3 separate regions of the Homo sapiens genome follow, and regions 1 and 2 are each linked to region 3. The links are contacts of gene promoters, found by promoter capture Hi-C in blood cells and fetal thymus (Javierre and others, 2016). All regions are on one chromosome and are shown on one strand. Each heading gives the region's core, a stretch centred on a gene start or on the middle of the fragment in contact. The rest is flanking DNA. Distances are from core to core; before and after follow the strand shown. Region 1 overlaps SPIN1 (spindlin 1). Region 2 holds the start of HNRNPK-AS1 (HNRNPK antisense RNA 1). Region 3 holds the start of TUT7 (terminal uridylyl transferase 7).

Evidence for each region. The method cuts DNA at HindIII sites, captures the fragments that hold promoters and counts their contacts. A CHiCAGO score of 5 or more calls a contact.
Region 1: a contact is called between a fragment that was not itself captured here and the fragment with the promoter of TUT7 in region 3, in 1 of 17 cell types (total B cells). The highest score is 5.9, in total B cells.
Region 2: a contact is called between the fragment with the promoter of HNRNPK-AS1 here and the fragment with the promoter of TUT7 in region 3, in 2 of 17 cell types (neutrophils and activated CD4 T cells). The highest score is 7.2, in neutrophils.

What each region holds. Positions count from the first base shown.
Region 1 is chr9:88,394,470-88,397,169 of GRCh38, forward strand. All of the region lies in intron 1 of SPIN1 (spindlin 1), which reads left to right. Among named protein-coding and RNA genes, the nearest start is that of SPIN1, 7.4 kb to the left of the region's middle. RefSeq lists enhancers at 928-1,428, 1,429-1,929 and a silencer at 1,573-1,797. The HindIII fragment of the contact is 2,924 bases long and covers 1-2,700 here.
Region 2 is chr9:83,970,845-83,973,544 of GRCh38, forward strand. It overlaps HNRNPK-AS1 (HNRNPK antisense RNA 1), which reads left to right and starts at 1,251. Exons shown (of 2, transcript NR_186535.1): 1 at 1,251-1,433. HNRNPK (heterogeneous nuclear ribonucleoprotein K) reads right to left here. Exons shown (of 17, transcript NM_031263.4): 9 at 2,442-2,555; 10 at 2,000-2,128; 11 at 1,038-1,345; 12 at 828-882; 13 at 429-512; 14 at 53-68. The HindIII fragment of the contact is 2,844 bases long and covers 1-2,105 here.
Region 3 is chr9:86,353,035-86,355,734 of GRCh38, forward strand. It overlaps TUT7 (terminal uridylyl transferase 7), which reads right to left and starts at 1,376. Exons shown (of 27, transcript NM_024617.4): 1 at 1,237-1,376; 2 at 1-196. The coding sequence starts at 165. RefSeq lists an enhancer at 1,225-1,434 and a silencer at 1,455-1,634. The HindIII fragment of the contact is 6,298 bases long and covers 1-2,700 here.

The sequences.
Region 1 (2,700 bases), core at 7-2,506, 2.0 Mb after region 3:
GTATTTCCAGTTCGAATTTAACATCACAGAGTTTTTACTATGAGCTTATCCTTTTTTCTCTAACGTTGAAAATTTACATTCTTAGCAACATTAATATAATTGCATTATCTTACAGTATAAATGTAGTTTGAAAATAACACTAATAAGCAACTGTAGCTTTATGTTTGGTTATGGTTTTTTCCTTAAAATATATCCACATAAGCATGTACAGTTGACATTCTAATTTGGAAGGCCATTTGAAAAGATTTTCTCTGATTATGTTATATGTTTGATAATTAATTTGGGTTGTTTGCCTGAAATTCTTCCTTTAAGAATTGCTTTAGTTTTTTATTTAATGTATTTTTTTTTTTTTTTTTTTGAGACAGAGTCTCGCTCTGTCGCCCAGGCTGGAGTCCAGTGGTGCGATCTCGGCTCACTGCAAGCTCCGCCTCCCGGGTTCACGCCATTCTCCTGCCTCAGCCTCCTGAGTAGCTGGGACTACAGGTGCCCGCCACCACGCCCGGCTAATTTTTGTATTTTTAGTAGAGACGGGGTTTCACTATGTTAGCCAAGATGGTCTCGATCTCCTGACCTCGTGATCTGTCCGCCTCGGCCTGCCAAAGTGCTGGGATTACAGGCGTGAGCCACCGCGCCTGGCCTATTTAATGTATTTTTTAACATGTAGAACATTTATGTGAACATTTATGTAGTTAAAAAATCTGATCTGTGTTAAAAAGTTATGTTCACAGCTTCACTTTAATTCTGTTCCTCCACGAATTTCTCTCTTGCCCCAGTTGTTTTTGCTTTGTTTTTCTGATATTTCATTTTTGCAAATGTAAGCATATGTGTATATTTTTGTTTCCCTTTCCTACACAATAGGCAGCGTTCTATGCACACTGCTCTGCCGTTCTATGCACACTGCTCCCTTTTACTTAATTTATTCTGGAGAGCGCTTCATTGAAGTGCGTGCTTGCAACTCATCTCCTAATGATGAACATTTGGGTTGTTTATATTCTCTTGGCTGTTATAAATATTGCGGCAATGAATAACCTTGTGGGTATATTGTTTTTTATTTGTGCAGATACAGCTTTAAGATAGATGTGGGGTGAAAGGTAAACACATTTGTAGTTTTGTTAGTGTCAAAATGTTACATTTTCTTTTTAAAACTTTTTAATTTTTTGTAGAGATGAGGTCTCACAGTGTTGCCCAGGATGATCTTGAACTCCTGACCCCAAGCAGTTCTTTTACCTGGGCTTCCCAAAAAACTTGGGATTACAGGCGTCAGGCATCAATACAGCCTAAAAAAATTACATTTTCAGGCTCAGTGTGATGGCTCACACCTGTAATCCCAGCACTTTGGGAGGCTGAGGTGGGCCGATCATGAGGTCAGGAGTTCAAGAACAGCCTGACCAACGTGGTGAAACCCCATCTCTGCTAAAAATACAAAAATTAGCCTGGCGTGGTGGCGCGTGCCTGTAATCCCAGCTACTCGGGAGGCTGAGGCAAGAGAATCACTTGAACCTGGGAGGCAGAGACTGCAGTGAGCTGAGATTGCGCCACTGCACTCCAGCCTGGGTGACAGAGGGAGACTCCGTCTCAAAAACAACAGCAACAACAACAAAAAAACCCGTCTCTACTAAGAATACAAAAATTGGCCAGGCATGGTGGCCTGCGCCTGTAATCCCAGCTACTCCTCATGAGAGTCACTTGAACTTGGGAGGTGGAGGTTGCAGTGAGCTGAGATCGCGCCATTGCACTTCAGCCTGGGTGACAGAGTGAGACTCCATCTCAAAAAAAAAAAAATTACATTTTTAAAAGGCAGATCTGACCATGTCAGCTTTTTACTTAAAACTCTAAATGGTGGCCAGGTGGGTGCGGTGGCTCACACCTGTACTGTACTCCCAGCACTTTGGGAGGCTGAGGTGGGCGGATTACCTGAAGCTGGGAGTTTGAGGCCAGCCTGGCCAACATGGTGAAACCCCGTCTCTACTAAAAATACAAAAATTAGCCAGGTGTGGTGGCGCATGCCTGTAATCCCAGCTACTCAGGAGGCTGAGGCAGGAGAATTGCTTGAACCTGGGAGGCGGAGGCTGCAGTGAGCTGAGATCACACCCCTGCACTCCAGACTGGGCAACAGAGTGAGACTCCGTCTCAGAAAACAAAACAGAAAAACTCTAAATGGCTTTCCAGTGCCTTAAGGACAAAAGTTTATAATGTAGCCTCAAGGGTACACATATAGTTGGTGTACATATAGCTTTACATCCCTTAACAATGGGATACATTCAGAGAACCTCGTTGTGTACCTCATAGAGTATACTTACACAAACCTATATGGGACAACCTACTAGGCACCTAGGCTATGTAATATGGCTTAATGCTCCTAGGCTACAAACCTGTACAGCATATGACTGAACTGAATACTGTAGACTATTGGAACACAGTGCTGTGTAGGTATTTATTTATCTAAACATATCTAAGGACAGAGAAAGTACAGTAGAAATGTGGTATAAAAGAGAAATGGCATGCCTGTGTAGGGCACTGAACCATGAATGGAGCTGTCAGGACTGGAAGTTGCTCTGGGTTGAGTCTGTGAGTGAGTGGTGAGTGAATGTGAAGGCCTAGAACATTACTGTACACTACCGTAGACTGTATGTAAACACTACAGTTAGGCTACACTAAATTTATAAAAAGTTTCTTCAGTAATTTACCTTAGCTTACTGT
Region 2 (2,700 bases), core at 1-2,500, 2.4 Mb before region 3:
TCATTTAAAAAGTATGAAATTAATGTTTGACTTCACAAAGGAGAGAACTTACCATATCCGGAGCCACCCTAAAAACAGAAAGAAAAAAATAGAAAATTACTTTGCCGTTGTAATTACTACCGGTACTTTAAAAAAATTCATTTAATAAAATGGAGTCTTGCTATGTTGCCCAGGCTGGTCTCAAACTCTCGGGCTCAAGTGATCCTCCTGCCTCAGACTCTTTTGTAGTTGGGATTATGAGTGAGCACCACTGCACCCAGCTTCACTATTCAAGTATTTTAATCTCATAAAATCCCTCTTCAGGAAACCAAAGTCCTCCTGTATCCTATTTTCAGTAAGTATCCTCAGGGGAATAAAAAACTTACTGGAGAGCAGGTAAGCATCTTAAATTATCACTGATATACACACGAACAACTATGATACTCAACCTGTGGTTCATAAGCCATCTGCCATTCTGATGGGCTCCATGTATCTATTGCAGAGTCCCAAGTTTCATCAGCACTGAAACCAACCTGTTAGAGATAAAAACATTAACATGAACCCGCATTGTATTTTGTTATAGAGCTGTTTTTAATATGCCTAATTTGCATGTTACATTAAAACAAAAGAGGGTACATATATAGGCAGCAATTTTGTAATCGAGGGGAACAAAGCTCAATAAAGTCGTAATCCTCCAGCAGCAAATAACAGAATTATTTAACTAGTAATCCAAACAAAATTTACTTGTAAGAAAAACTTTTTAATCACTATAACCTTCAACAAAACGTGAACTACATTGTGACAACCCTCACATACCCAACACACTGGTAATAAACCAAAGTTCTTACCATGCCGTCGTAACGGTCTCCAGGTCTCCCTCTTCTGTCATAGGCCATGAGGTCTCTGCAAGCATAGTACTTGTTGTAATCTAAACGTGCTTACATGCCACACATATCAAATCAAAGTCTACCTTGTCTACCACTAAGTGCAGCCTCTTGCAGGTTAATAATTCATAGATGGGGGAAGAAAAAACAACAACAACAAAAAAAACAACTTACCCCCCTCTAGGTGGTGGTGGTGGAGGAAGAGGAAGATTCCGAGCTCTGCTACCACCCCGGCCGCCTCGTCCGGGAGGAGGGGGAGGTGGTCCTCGACGAGGGCTCATATCATCATAATCTCTTCTAGATGGAGGCATGGGACGCCCACCCCGACCAGGAGGCATTCTGTCAAAACCACCTCTTCCCCGCATGGGAAATCCCACTGGGCGTCCGCGACGGTCATCAAACATCATTGTAAAACCACCATAATCATAGGTTTCATCGTAAAAATTGGGATCATAAGGCTGTGCACGTCCTTTGATGGGAGACTAAAAACAGAGATGGAACAAACTTACAGACTGAAGAAAAAGAGTCCTGCTTCATACCAATCCTTCTAACATCATCATCAAACAAAATGTAAGTCATTCCCCCATCAGGAGGTACTAGAGACAGAAACAGGAATTATGTCAACGCTAAAAGTAGCAAAGTAAAGATTCCAAAGAAATCCAATACTTTTGGCAAATGCTAAACAAAAGTGAGTTCTATTGCCTATACAGGGAGAAGTAATAGCTTGCTCTTACACTTAGATCGTAAGAAACCACAAAGCCCTCCCATTTTACACATGACAAACTACAATGCACATTTCACAACAAGGGCTGAAGAGATCAGTCTTGGCAAGCCTGTAATCCATACTGAGGCACCTGAGATAGGAAGCCCTGCAGCATAGTTACAAAGACACAAGCAACACTATAGGAAATTCATTCAAAGGCTCAAAGGCTATAGAAATACCACCAACAAATTACCACTCTCCACTTTTTCAAAACCATTTTTAAATTAAAGTGATGGCTGAAGCCAGGTGATAGAAAATTGCTAGGGAAAGGGCAAATAAAGACTATTAGACTAAATGCTCTGAAGCTACTTTTGCAGAAGGTTATCACTTTGTTTCATAAAATCAAATGTAAACAAAAAGTGTTCTGAAGTACCTCAGATATAAGATCAAGGATGATCTTTATGCACTCTACAACCCTATCGGGTTTTCCTCCAATAAGAACAACTCTGTCAGTGGAATGAGGACAGCATTCCTGGAAAAGCTTGATGGTGGTTTGAGTGTTCTGTAGTAAGATCATAAAAAAAAATAATAATAATTAGAAGAAAATTAGCTTTCCTAGGTTCAGTGAAAATTGCATTTGAATTCAACAATTAACCCCCCACAATATAAAAACTTCATTAATTATCACAGGGCTTTGCAATGGTATAAAAATTTTGACAAAATAACATGTCTAGCAGTGCCAGACATTTTTTGTCATTTGCGATAAGCAATCTTTGGAGGGAACTGAGAGGGGAAGCGAGAGAAGCTCACAGAAACAAGTCTATATGAAAATTTACTTTCCAGCAAAGAATACGGCAGAATTTTTTTTTTTTTACCTCTCGAAGTTCTTTGATTTTAGCACCTTTGACCCCAATAATTCCTCCTGCTAGACTCTGATGAATCAACAGCCTCAACTCGCAGTCAAAGTCACTTCCTTTATAGTGTTGGTACTGTGGAGGGAGAATTATAAAATTTTAGTCTCAAATCAACAATTCCCCAATACACACTTATCTGCTATAAGCATAACAATAATATACTGTTGCAGTGAGCAACCTGAATTTATATTTCAATAACTTTACCAGTTATGTGCTTATT
Region 3 (2,700 bases), core at 126-2,625:
CTTCTTTTTTTGAAGGCCCTTTTCCATTTTACTGCCATGGCCTTTAGCATGGTCATCTATTATTAAATAATCTTGTTGGGGGTGACCCCTTCTGAAGTCATCATCATCCATAGTCCCCCGGTCTTTAGTGCGCTTCACGAAATAAGGTTTTGCTGTATCTCCCATGGTCTTTGACTTCAATTTTCTTACTTTGCACCTGAAAGAAGGTATTTTGGGGAAATATCAAACTATATAACAAGATATCATACAAGTATACAAAATAACAATTTATCGTACAGATGCCCCAAAGCCTGTAAGAAAGAAACTCCCTATTTTTTTAAAATAAAAATTCTATCACATTCTTAATAATCAGTGCTTTACCCTAGAGGTTGGGAGGCTTGGTCCTCTAATATTCTTCATGAAAATTAATACTTACTATTTAGCATGAAGATTAAATGTGTGAATAAGAGAAGCTCTATAGGTTCCAGAACTGTAGCATAGTAGAATATTACTCATATCAAGTATGGTCGGCTTTTCCCTCTGTAACAAGGCGTTTCTCTTCAAAGAAAACCTCATCCCAAGCCAATATTATTACTAAACTACCGAAACAGTCTTTTGTTTTTTAAGTTGGCAATTACTTGTAAGTGTTATACACCGAAACTTTACGTGAAAGGAGTACTACATTTCTCAACTCCAATTTTCCGTCCCTTCACCACCCCTATTCTGGACAGACCGGCTTTGAGCGCTTAGGTTACGGAGGGGCTGGGCTTCCGACCAAGGTGCAGCTGTAATTAAAGAGGCTGGGTTTCCGATCAAGGGACAACTCCATCTAACCTCCTCAATCCCCGTTCTCCAACCCCAAACAAGTTTGGTTTTGTCAGGAACAGCAATTCCCTGAGGAATGACACTCCTCTTCAATCCCCATCTGACCGCTCCACCACCGATCTGCCTTAGTTTCCACCCTTTTGAGCCCGACGTGGAGAAAGAGGAGGCGTCCCTGCACTCCTGGCCAAGAAGCCACCGTGGGGACCAGGAAGCAGGAAGTGACCTGCTGTCTCCATGGGGTTCCAGGGTTCCCCCGGCCGGCCAGGGGGCCAGAGCCGAATGTCTTGACCCAAATCCCGTCTTCTGCGCCCGCAGTCTGACAAAAAGTGAAAACACGGACTCGAACCCGAGGGCTCAGCCTCTGCCGGCCTGGGGGTTCCTCGGTCACCCAAACTGGTGCGAGGAGGCCGGCGGGGGATGGAACCAACGTACCTCCGGGGCCAGGCCGGACAGCTACTCTGGAGTCCAGGAAACCAACTGGAGAATCAGCCCGGAGGCGAGTCTGGCAGGGACGTTGGGAGAAGGCGCCCAAGAGCACTCACCACCTTCGCCGCGGTCCCCAGCCTCTTCCTGTCCCGGCCGGGCTCCCTCTCCGTGTTTTCCTTCGGCCCCACTTCCGGCGCTCAGCGCTGTCTCATTGTGCGCGATTGGGAGCCGACTGTGCCCCCGCCCTAGCGCTCCGCCGCGCACACCGGAAACGAGCGACGCGCCCCGCCCCGCGGTGCCCCGCCCACGCTCCGACCCCGCCTCCCGCGCCTTTGCCAGCCTGGCCTCTCCTGTCCGGCGCCCCAGCGCACTCGCTCCAGGTGTCGGGCGCCGGGTCTGGCCACCGGGCGCAACCGTCGGAGCGGGCTAATTACTGGCTCGCCGGATAGCCGGTTCGCCGGCGCTTGGGGGCCAGGCCCGAACTTCTTACCAGAGCGGCGCCCGCCCCTTTTCTCTCCCGGCTTCGACGCTCCTCTGGTTCCCCTCTCTGCTCGGGAGGCTAAGTGCTCGGGAGAGGCGCGGGAGCCAAGACTTATGCACCCGGAGAGGGACGCGGAGCCAGCGGTCGGGCAAAGCCGCATTCCCCGCGCTTGGGGCCTCGGCTTTGCCCCTGGGTGCTCCCCGGTTACTTCCAGGGGGAGTAAAGGCTCCGAGGCCTCGTAGCGCTCTTGGTGTTTTTCTGATAATTCGTAGTGATTAATGTTTTCGTGAATTCTTAATTGCCGACCTTGTAGAAATGCCAGCATTTAAACATCCACTGCTCACCCAGATCTCAAAGTGGTCAAGGAAAATGCTCTGCTTTTTTCTTAGGTTGTGTAAGGATTACTTTTACTTGGAAAAAAAAAAAATCAGTTCATTTCGAAGAATATGTGTAATGGCAAGGGATGACCAGAGAGCGTTACATTCGAATTTTTGAGTTGAAGAGTGCACACCTCGAACTCGGGGTTGCTTTTTCTTTCTTTACTGTATGACCTTCCTTGCTGTTTACAGTGTTCTAAATGCTTTGAAAAACATCAAGCAACTAGTGAAATTAGGGAGCGTTGGGAAAATCGACAGTTTTCATTTCTCTGCTTTTTTAAAGCATGTAAATTGAAAGCTGTCAGGTCCTGTGGAGCAATGGTCTTAAAATAATAACACACAAAGTTCTGGCTATGCCAATAACTGTTTTGAAGGCTTTACAAATATTAACTCCTTTGTTTTATATTTTTGTAGAGACAGGGGTCTCCTATGTTGCCCAGGCTGCTCTCCAATTCCTGACCTCAAGCCATCCGCCCAACTTGGCCTCCCAAAGTGTTGGGATTACAGGGGTGGTCCACCATACCCAGCCTTAACTTCTTTAATCCTCACAGCTTCATGAAGACTATATCATTATCCCACTTTTAAAGATGAGGACATTTAGCACTTGCAGTG